3 separate regions of the Homo sapiens genome follow, and regions 1 and 3 are each linked to region 2. Evidence: promoter capture Hi-C in 16 types of primary human blood cells and fetal thymus (Javierre and others, 2016). All regions are on one chromosome and are shown on one strand. The core of a region is centred on a gene start or on the middle of the fragment in contact, and the rest is flanking DNA. Distances in the headings are between cores, read along the strand shown. Region 1 has its middle 36 kb from the start of PCSEAT. Region 2 holds the start of ZNF295-AS1 (ZNF295 antisense RNA 1). Region 3 has its middle 41 kb from the start of RSPH1.

Region 1 (3,730 bases), core at 149-2,648, 390 kb after region 2:
AAATTAAGGAGGGATATGAACATTCGTAGAGGCCCTAACACAGCCCTCAGCCCTCCATCCGTGTCCTGAGCACGCTCCTTAGTCCTATATGCATCAGCAAATGAGTCATACTTTTAGGTCTTTATTGGCAAAGTTTTTAACACTTTTTTGGAAACAGGTTAATCTCATGGTGTTGTCTTTTTTTTTTTTTTTTTTTTTGAGACAGTCACTCTGTTCCCCATGCTGAGTACAGTGGTGCAATCTCGTCTCACTGCAACCTCCACCGTCTTGGTTCAAGCGATTCTCCTGCCTCAGCCTCTTGAATAGTTGGGATTACAGATGTGTACCACCACCATGCCAGGCTAATTTTTGTATTTTTAATAGAGACGAGGTTTTGCCATGTTGGCCAGGCTGATCTTGAACTCCCGACCTCAGGTGATCCACCCGCCTTGGCCTCCCAAAATGCTGGGATTACAGGCGTGGGCCACCGCGCCCGGCTCATGGTGCTGTCTTGAGTGCTTTCATTCTGTGTTTACACTGTGTGTGTGTGTGTGTGTGTGTGTGTCTGCGCATGTGCTTGAGTGTGTGTTACATACATGATTGGACCCGTTGGGTGAACTTCTTCAGTGGTCGGACACCGTGCAACCTCATTACTCTGCTTTCACTGGATCAACACTGGAAAACACACACTGGGTAGCCATGATCATGTTGGCATCTGGTCCAAATGAATCAATGAAGGCTGTGTAGCCTACCACATCAAACAAGCCCTGGTCACCCTGACATGACGCTTGGGGAAAGCAGACCCCACAGTCTTGCCCTGCACTGCAGCAGGGGGAACCACTCTCCTACAGGGACAGGCGACATATGTAAATTCTGCCTCTCTTCCTAGAAACCACGGCAACTCATTAACAATAAGGCTAGTGAAAAAAAATACAGTGTAGATTTTCTTACTACAAGTTAATTTTTATTATATTTTTGAGTGGACTCATATTCTCGGGATCATCAAAGTAATAGATTAGAGGATAAACTGAGCTCTTTGTTAAAAAAGAGAAATAATAACAACCATCACTCAAAAGAGGGTCATTATTCTCAAAATCAAAAGGACTAAATCTATAAGTAAAATATAGAACACAAATATGGGTATTTTAAAAATGTGAACCCAGCATTGGTGACTCAGTTTTAACAAAATAGCATAATCCATCAAATTAAGCTTACATTGTTAATTTGAAATGTATTGGTGTTGTATTCTAATTTCATTGATAAATCTCTTTGATTTTTATTTACATAAGACCTATCATGGCTGGGTAATGTGCCACACACCTGTGGTCCCAGCTACTCAGGAGGCTGAGATGGGAGGCTTACTTGAGCCCAGGTGATTGAGGTTGTAATGAGCTGTGATCACACCACTGCACTCCAGCCTGGGCAACAAGCAAGACTGTCTCTAAAAAGAAAAGAAAAGAAAAGAAACAACAAAACAACAAAAAACTAAAAGAGCTATCAACGTAATATATTTGTAAGTCCTCTAGTGTTGCCACACATACAAGTAGCAGTAAAATAAAAATACTTTAACAAAAACTTAGGAGTCCACAGGATTTTTTTAAAAAGAGGATCTCTAAATGTAAGCTTGGGAAATGCTGGTTTAAGGCAGACTAAGCTGAAGGTTACACATCTCAGGCTTAGTCTGACTTGGAGAGGTGGGAAGTTTGTTGGAACTGGTGAGAGATCCCAGGAGCTGTGAGAATTCCCGCTCGCAGCTTTGACTGTAGCTCTGAACAACTTACTTCATTCACAGGATGGAGCCCAGGTGTATTAGGCAGTGAGTGGAGGAATCTAGTCTTCAGACGAGGGGCAGACCAGAGCTAGATTAGGGGCTCTTGGAATTATCCTCTTAGACCACTGAAGTGTAGGAAGGGAAGCCAAGGCACGTGGCCAGACCATGGCATTGGAGTGGGAGATGTCAGAGGGGACAGGGCTGTGACTCAGGAGTCATTCAGGCCCCACATCTGACCCCGTGGTCCCAGGAGGTCTGCCTGCTGACTGGGAGACCACTGCCCTGCCCAAGCGCTTTCTACCTTGGTCCTGAGGGCTCTGTCCTGGGGATGCTGCCAGAATCACAGGAGACTCTGTCCCGGAGGGCTGGGAAGGCAGCTGGCAACTGAACAGCCCATTGGCCATCCTGCCTGGCTGGACATGTGGGTTGTCTTTCATTTGTTATGACTAAGAATAGCACATTACCTCTTAAAAACTTTCCAGGCCTAGAAAATCTTCCCCACTCATTGGGGAGCAGGATGCTGGGCTCCTGATTAAATGCTTATCCTGGCACTTGAGCAGATTTGAATCTCTTTTTAAGGAATCTTTGGCCTTTCCCACAGGCAAGCTGCCCACAGCATGGGGAAGAGCGGCCGGTGCTCGCGTGAGGACGTCTCCAGCTCATCTGCTCCTGTATCTGAGAGCTGATGGCTGCTTTTGCATCTGCTTACTGGAACATTTTGCTTCCTTTATAATCAGCAACACAGAATATGGAATTGGCATCATTCTTGGGCTACATGGACTGATTTCTAGTTCCTGCCAAAAATATGTTTGAAACATCACTGAACAGACATTGTCTAAAAGTCTTGCTATCCATTTTTATTTTCCCAGTTTCATGTTGCTTCAAGTTAAAAATCATGAGAAAGCAGCAAACTGATTATTTTAGCTCCCCAAAATAAATTACTTTACTGAGTCATAAGTTAATGCAGTATCCTTGCATTCCATTTAGAGCCAGTATAAGAATGTTCCCCCAGTCTTCTGCCAAACCACACAGAAAGATGGAGTCTCAAATGAAAGTCTACGCAATATGCTTCTTCTGGATTGGCAACAACACAAAAGTGAGACATACACTCCCTTAGGCAGGCAGTGGGGAAACAGATACTTTCACATATTGCTGGCAGAGTACAAATTGGAGGCAAAGTGGCAATTTCCAGCAAAGCTATGAATGCATATCCACCTTTTGACCAGACGCTTATGCTTCTGGGAATCTGCCCTCCAGCTCTGTTTGCACATGTGCAAAATGATATTGTGCATGAGATGATTTCTTGTGGCATTTTAAATAATGGTGAAAGACTGGAAAGAAGCCAAATATTCCTTTTTCTTTTCTTTGAGACAGGGTCTTTCCCTGTTGCCCAGGCTGGAGCTGGAGTGCCATGGCAGGAGTCACAGCTCACTGAAGCCTCGAACTCACTGACTCAAGCAATCTTCTCACCTTAGCCTCCCAAGTAGCTGGGACTACAGGTGCGCACCAACACATTTGGCTAATTAAAAAAAATTCTTTAAAATATCTTTTAAGTACAGTGTCTTGCTATGTTGCCCAGTCTGGTCTCAAACTCCTGGCCTCAAATAATCTTCTGGCTTCAGCCTTCCAAAGTGCTGGGATTACAGATGTGAGCCCCTGGCCAGAAGCCAAATATTCTTAATAGAGGAGTAGCTAAACCTTTACAGAACTCCCCCACTATAAAATACTATTTACCTGTGAAAAATAATAAGGGGGTTCTCTATATGGATGAGCAGAATCATGGCCCCCAAAATGTGCCTGTTCTAATCTCTGGGACTTGTGAATATGTGACCTTATGTGGCAAAAGCCATTCTGTAAAGGTGATTTAGATCCAGATCTGCCTCACTCTGAAACCCCACTCCCCCACTGTGGCCCCGAGCCTGGCTAGAGATGCCGCCTGCTCCCTGTTGGACACGGTGGACCCGCCAGCATCCCCCTTGC
Region 2 (3,726 bases), core at 218-2,717:
ATCGGCGCGCTCCTCGCCGCGACGGACTCCACCCGGCCGGGGCGCTCAGCCTCCTCGCCGTGGCCCCCAGCCCGGCCGCCTCCCCTAACGGCCGCCGCAGGCTCCCCTCATGGACCGAGAGCGCGGGCTTGCAGCGCGGCAGCGTCCGTTCGGCGCGCGGCTCCGGGCAGGCCCGCCCTCCCCCGTCCCCCTGCGCCGCGAGGCCCCCCCCCCGCCCCGCCCTCCGGCGCCCGGCGCCCAATCAGAGTGCCGCGCACGTGACGAGCGATGCCTGCGATGACCTCATCCCTGGTGTGGGATGACGTCAAATTCAAGATGGATGGAATCACAGCGGCAGCGGCGGCTGCGGCGCGCGCGAGCCGAGTGTGAGCGGAAAGGGGCCCGGCGTCTGCCTCGAGACTGAAGACCGGTGAGTAACTGTCACGCCCCTAGCTCTAGGAGAACTGCGGGGCTCCTTGGGAGGCTACAGCCTCCCCGCAAAACGCGGCCTTTCCTGACGTAACTCTGAGGTGATTTCTCTCCTCTTTTTTCTCCACCAGCGGGTTGCGGGCTCCGAGCGCTTCTGCGCGTGCGCGGGACCTGGGCGCTCACCGAGCATGTCCCGGGTTCCCACGTAGCCGATTGTACCTTCACACTGCGCACGCTCCCTGCCAGCACTTGGCCTCGCCCTCGCGAATGCGCATGCTCCATTCCCTCACGGGCTTCACTCTTCACCCTGGCCGAGCTGCCCCTGGGGTAGGGGACACGCCTGGCCCAGGCGCGCGCCCCTCGCGCGGAGCGGTTGAAACGCCTCGTGGAGAAGGGCGCGTTCTCCTGTTCCGGGCAGGGGTTGGGGGCCGGCGGCCCGGGCCGCGGGGTGTGCGCGGAAGCTGGCCGGCGGCCTTGGGGACCCCGCACCTGCCGCGACCCGCCGCTCCCTTCACGGTCCGGGACCTAGCCCCGCCGCCCCGTCCTCGGCCCGGTGGCCGGAGCGTGACCGCTCGGTGCCCGCTGGACGCTCCCTCCCCGCCCCCGGCCCCTCCCGCGGACGCCTGGACCTCACAGCGCGTTTTTTTTCCTCCAGAGCCCCCGCAGACCTTGTCTGGGACTTCCCGGCGGTCCCGCAGAGCATAGCACCCTCCGCCGGCCAGGAGCCCTGCTGCTCGGCCGGCGACCGTCTCCCCGCTTGGAGGAGCCCCCTTCCCCCCGTCCGAGGTCCGCGGCTGGAGGGGCAGGGAGTCAAGACGCCACCCGTGCCGGCCTTAGAGACGCCCGCGGCAGCCCCGCCACATCTCTTCCCGGCTTTTCGGGAACACGCCCCGTAGTCCATCCTCAGCGGCTCCTGCTTTTCCATCCCAGCACACCGCTGGGGGCTCGCACTCTGCCCCCGGTTGCTATGCGGTCCCAGCCACGAGGGCTCTGCGGTTCGGGAGAATTCCGCAAGAGCGCGCGTTCGGAGGCGGGGTGTTTTTAGACAGGTGCCCCGGTGGGATTGCCTGACCGAGAGGACGGGGAAAGTTAGACTTCACACGGCCTGGGGTTTTTCCTTTCGTGCAAGCGCTCACAGCCCTGGCACCGAGCCTCCGAGGGCACGCGTGTGTTACAAAATAGTCCAGCGATTGTTCACACGATGACCCTGAGTCCTCAATTAAGCAGCTTACATTACGGTCCTCATACCTTGTTTAAGAAGACAAGAAAGTGGGTTAATCCATTTTAGAAAGATTTCTCATGGAAAATTATCTTTTAAAGCTTTCCTCGTGTACTTGGAGTAAATGATGATCTCTAAGGACTAGTAGTCATTAAGTTTAAATTTAAGCACCCCTAAATATTGATGTTAAAAAGAAAGTCAAAATTTGAAGTGCTGGTTTACTTAAAAGTAACTTTTTGTTTATTTTTCCTTTTTAACACTTTATTGAAAGTATAATGTGCTTCATTCTGTTGAAATAGAAGTTGAAGAAGATATAACCCCTGCCCTCGAGGAACTTACACTGTTGAATATTAGATGTGTACACTCTGAAGGAAAAATTGTAAATAACAAAATTGGGGTTAAGTTAAGAAGGTCTCTCGATGGAAATGAGATAATTAAAGGGACAATTTTTTCTTTTCTTTTCTTTTTTTCTTTTTTTTTTTTTTTTTTTTTTGACAGAGTTTCACTCTTGTTGCCCCAGGCTGGAGTACAATGGCGTGATCTTGGCTCACTGCAACCTCCGCCTCCCTGGTTTTGCAACCTCCGCCTCCCTGGTTCAAGCGATTCTCCTGCCTCAGCCTCCTGAGTAGCCGGGATTACAGGCTTCCGCCACATCGCCCAGCTAATTTTTTTTTTTTTTTTTTTTTTTTTTGTAGAGACGGGGTTTCATCCTGTTGACCAGGATGGCCTTGAGATCTCCTGACCTCGTGATCCACCCCACTTGGTCTCCCAAAGTGCTGGGATTACAGGCATGAGCCACTGCGCCCAGCCGAAGGGACAGTTTTAGTTGTCCGCAAAGCCAATGGAAGTAGAGAGAGCAGATTATAAGCTATGTAAGAGCTAGGTTTGACCAGGTCACAGTGATAGGCTATAAGGGAAAGAGAAGAAATTTTAGGGTCTGGCAACACACCAAAGTAAATCGGGAATATGTGAGGACAAACAGATGTGGGAGCAGGGACGAGAGTTGTGGAGTTTAAGTACCATGCTGGACCTGAGGATATACTGTGATGGAACCGTTCAGTAGGTACCTGAGAGGCTGGAGCCTCAAGAGTCTAAACAGAGATACAGATTTGGGAATCATCGTCCAGTAGTGATTAAAGTCACAAGGTCTAATAGAAAAAGCAAAGAATACTGCCACGTTTTGGGGCTCTGTAACGGATGCTGGAGAAATAAAGGTGAGCCAGTCCAGGTCTTGAGCCTCAAGTTTGATGATTTCTCTCTTTGCCCTGTACCTAGCTTGCCAGGCCTTGTGCTGGGCATCAGGGATACGTGCATGCAAACAAGGGTTCTTTCTTTAGGGAGTCCCTTGGGGGAGACACATGTAAAAGAAGATTAATTGAAGAAGTTGTGGTGTTATTACAGAGAGATGAAGTATTGTGGTAGTTTAGATGACTGAGCTGCTGGCTAGGGGCAAATTACAAAAGCTTTGTAGAGTCGGTGACATTTCAACTGGATCTTTCGAAAGAAGTTAGCCAAGTAAAGGAGAGGGAAGAGAGAGATTTTGGGTGGCAGAGGCTGGATATGCAAGTTTGTAGAGTAGATGGTAAGTAGTGTCCAATAAGGGTGGAGAGATGAATTGTAACCAGAGTATGAAAAGTCTTGTATGCCAGTCTGTAGTTTGGATTTTCTTTAGGAATAGAAAAATCAGTACAGTACTCCAAAGCAGGGCAGTGATGTAATACGCTTTACTTCAGCAAAACAACTAACAGCCATAATTTTCACTCGTGCATTTAATTGGAGTGAAGAGTACAGAAAAGTCAAATCTTTATTGTTGTGGAAGATAACATGTTGAGCATTGATAATGCCAAAAGATATTAAATAGATTATCAGTCTTTAAATAGCTTTCAGTCCTCTTGGGGAGACACAAATGACTAACAATAAAGGCAGTGAATAAACATGTAAATGGTGCTGAAGTTGAGGTATTTGCACGTTATAAGATGAAGTAGTCAAGGAAGGTATATTCATTTGCTTGGGCTGCTATAACAAAGTACTGCAGACTGGATGACTCAACAGATTTCTTTTCCCACAGTTCTGAAAGCTAGAAGTCCAAGAACAAGGTG
Region 3 (3,490 bases), core at 258-2,757, 450 kb before region 2:
AACTGTGAGTCCATTAAACCTCTTTCCTTTATAAATTGTCCAGTCTCAGGTATGTCTTTATTAGCAGCGTGAGAACAGACTAATATACCACCCTACAATCAGCACACAGATTCCCGTCAGCCTGAAAATATCTTCGTGCCCATTTGCAATCCATTCCCCTACTCCCAGCATTAAGCGTCTGATGTGCTGCTTTCTGTCACCACAGATTGGATTTGTCTCTAAATAGTTGTATATAAATTGAATCATGCAGTACATCCTCTTTTGCTTCTGGTTTCTTTATGCTACTATAAGTGATGTTTTTATTTTACTTACTGATTGTTCACTGCTAACATAACATTTGTATTCCGCCTCTGTCCCCCTCTCTGCTGTCTTCTCTTCACCTCACGTATTGGCAGAGGAGGTGTTACGTGTTCACTGGCTTATTAGTCCATTGCTCACCACCTTCCACTGAAATATAAGCTCTTTGAGAGTGAGCTTGTATCTGATCCACTGCTGCTTTCCCAGCAGTGTTAATGGCACCCAAACATTCCCTCATAAATGTCTGTTGAGTGGATGACTGAGGCGCCGGACTCCACACTTGAGGGCTGAGGTGAGGAAGGACGAACTCTTCCCAGTGCTGAGCCTGAGGAGGGAGTGTGGGCTGAGGAGGGGGCGTGGGCTGAGGAGGGAGCGTGGGCTGTGGAAGGGCAGACAAGACGGTGAGCTCATGGGTCTCATTGGCGGTCAGGAGAGGGTCCTCTGTAACAGAGGCCTCCAACCCCTGTTGGGAACCAGGCTGCACAACAGGAGATGAGCAGTGGGTGGATGAGTAAGTGAAGCTTCGTCTGTATCTACAGCCACTCCCCATTGCTCTCATTACTGCCTGAGCTCCGCTTCCTGTCAGATGAGTGGTGGCATTAGTCTCATAGGACTGTGAACGCTACTGTGAACTGTGCATGTGAGGGATCTGGGTTGTGAGCTCCTTATGAGAATCTAATGCTTGATTATCTGTCACTGTCTCCCATCACCCCCAGATGGGACTGTCTAGTTGCAGGAAAACAAGCTCAGGGCTCCCACTGATTCTACATTATGGTGAGTTGTATAATTATTTTATTATATATTACAACGTGATAATAGAAATAAAGTGTGCACAATAAATGTAATTGCACTTGAATCATCTCAAAACCATTCCCCACCCCCACCCCACCCTGGTTTGTGGAAAAATTTTCTTCCACGACACTTGTCCCTGGTGCCAAAAGGCTGGGAACTGCTGCTCTACAAGAGGGCCAGCTGCTGCTGGGCTGTGAAACCCACTGAAAAGAAGGACAAATACCAGGTTTTTGGTAATGGGAGGACATTACCAGGGCAGAAATGCCCAATGTGAAGCTCAACTGCACATGTGAATTTGACTGGACTGCAGGGTGCAAAGACGTTTTGACCCAGTGTCACTCTGGGGGTGTGTGAGGAGGTTTCTGAATGAGACGAACATTCGAATCAGGAGACTGTCAAGCAAACGGCCCTCCCCAGGGTGGGTGGGCCTCATCCAATCAGTTGAAGGTCTGAATGGAACAAAAGGCTAAGAGGAAACTCCTCATGTCTGACGGCCTTTGAACTGAGGCATTGGCTTTTTCCTGCCATTGGACTTGAATGAAAACATCGATTCTCTCTGGGTCTCGAGCCTACTGGCCTCCAGACGGGAGGCCAACAGCTCCCGCAGATCGTGGGGCTTCTCAGCTTCTGTAAGAGTGTGAGCCAATGCCCCTCTCTCCTTCCCTCTCCCAGCCTGTATCTGTATGTTTGTATCCGTATGGATGTGGGTCCTGTTTCCCACTGGCTGTTTCTCTGGAGAACTCTGGTTCCTGCCCTCTGTTTTGTTGTTTGTGGCTCTAAGTCACGGTATGTTAAAGTTCAGGTTTAAGAGGATGCGGGCTGCCATGTCTAAACATGTGGGCATAAGTACAAAAATCCTTACGTCATCAGATTGTGTTTCATCATATGGGCTAATTTCTTTCCTCAGGCTAAGCTGCAAGTTCTTGTCTGGAGTCGAAGGACCAATAATATCGCCTTCACCTGCCCCCTCCTGGTCCACTCACCAGGATGCCAGGCGGGACTTTTGCACCACCCTGACTGTGAGGCAATGCCCTGGGGATCCTGCTAAGACACAGCTGCTGACACGGAGACGGGGGTGCCTGAGGCCCTGCATTTGTAACAAGCTTCCAGGCAATGCCTGTAATCCTGGTCCTCGGTCCAGAGTTTGAGAAGCAAAAAAATAAATAATTTATAGGGCCCCTTGCCTCTCCTCAAAGTCTGGTTATATTTTCTAGATAATAAGTGCTATCAGTACCTCGCAAGGAGAACAAAATGGCTCAAGGATAGCTGGAGGCAAAGAAAGTGCAGTGTGTCTTCCAAAATCACTAACTCAAATAAACGGGCTGCCTCTCCGGGGAGGCTCCTGGGAGGAGAGTGTGCCTTCGGTGAGCTCATTCGCAGGCGTTTCTCCTTCGGGATTTACGTTGCTTTCGTGCTATAGCTTCTTTGGAAAATTGCTTGGTTTATTGTCCTAACACAGTTTTGTCTCACTATGGGACACAATGAAAGAGAATGAGTTAATGGTTGAAAGAAATACATTTTGGAGAGAGAAGGAGAAACATGACATTTCCAGATGATTAATTTTTTAATGACTTCTTGGAGAACTTTGTTTGAAGACTTCACCAGGAAGATTGCATGTATACATGTGTGTTTCTTAATCCATTTTTGTGGCCTTAAGTCCTAGGAAAAAATGGTACTGGACAGCCGGAAGTGGCATTTACTTGGAACCACACAGGAAGAAGTACATCATAATTCTGGGAGTTTGCTGTGGCAATTTGCAAAGGCCTTTCACACAGCTGGACCCCTCTCACTTTTCATGAAGAACCCCCCACGCGCCGGCAGACAGCGGCTGCACACACATTCAGGAGATTGCAGGAAATAATTTCCAACAGCAAATGAGACATTAGTTATTCAATGCTGATAAACAACAGCAGCGCTTCATCCGAAGGAATTCCACTGGGATCTGAGTTAAAGCTCAGTTCCGTCCTCTACTCATGGTGACCTCGGACAGAGTCTCTGTGCCTCGGGCCCACCGTTGTAAAATCATGTGGCCTGTCGATGGGTCCACGTCACTTGCAGCATCTTAGTCCTCATTCTGGAGGACACGATGTGCCCTCTTAGCAGTGAGCCCTGGAGGGGCTGACTCGCAGCCGTGTTTACCTATTCCTGTGGTCCAAATGCTCCTGCCAGGGCTGATTCAATTACATCTCTAGCAGTGAACTTCAGCTGGATGGACTGACCTTCCAACCCTGAACTTCAAGGTGAGTGTGTGAAGCATGCCGGCTGTGTCTTGCCTTGGGAGAGTAGGTGGCTCACCCCGGGCGGCTGAGGCGATGAGGCAGGGAGGAGCAGGAGTGGGAACATCTGGTTGGATAGCAGGGCTGGAGAGAGGCGAGAGCTTGGGGGCTCTCTTCAGGTGTGC

Evidence for each region. Contacts are between HindIII fragments. The CHiCAGO score rates a contact against its expected background, and 5 or more counts as called.
Region 1: a fragment that was not itself captured here is called in contact with the fragment with the promoter of ZNF295-AS1 in region 2 in 1 of 17 cell types (monocytes); the score reaches 5.0 in monocytes.
Region 3: a contact is called between a fragment that was not itself captured here and the fragment with the promoter of ZNF295-AS1 in region 2, in 1 of 17 cell types (M0 macrophages). The highest score is 6.1, in M0 macrophages.

The regions. Positions count from the first base shown.
Region 1 is chr21:41,614,831-41,618,560 of GRCh38, reverse strand. No RefSeq gene overlaps it. Among named protein-coding and RNA genes, the nearest start is that of PCSEAT, 36 kb to the right of the region's middle. The HindIII fragment of the contact is 413 bases long and covers 1,192-1,604 here.
Region 2 is chr21:42,006,935-42,010,660 of GRCh38, reverse strand. ZNF295-AS1 (ZNF295 antisense RNA 1) reads right to left here and starts at 1,467. Exons shown (of 2, transcript NR_119384.1): 1 at 1,077-1,467. It overlaps ZBTB21 (zinc finger and BTB domain containing 21), which reads left to right and starts at 301. Exons shown (of 3, transcript NM_001098402.2): 1 at 301-409. RefSeq lists silencers at 1-228, 669-978, 1,019-1,128. The HindIII fragment of the contact is 6,657 bases long and covers 1-1,730 here.
Region 3 is chr21:42,453,941-42,457,430 of GRCh38, reverse strand. No RefSeq gene overlaps it. Among named protein-coding and RNA genes, the nearest start is that of RSPH1, 41 kb to the left of the region's middle. The HindIII fragment of the contact is 1,374 bases long and covers 821-2,194 here.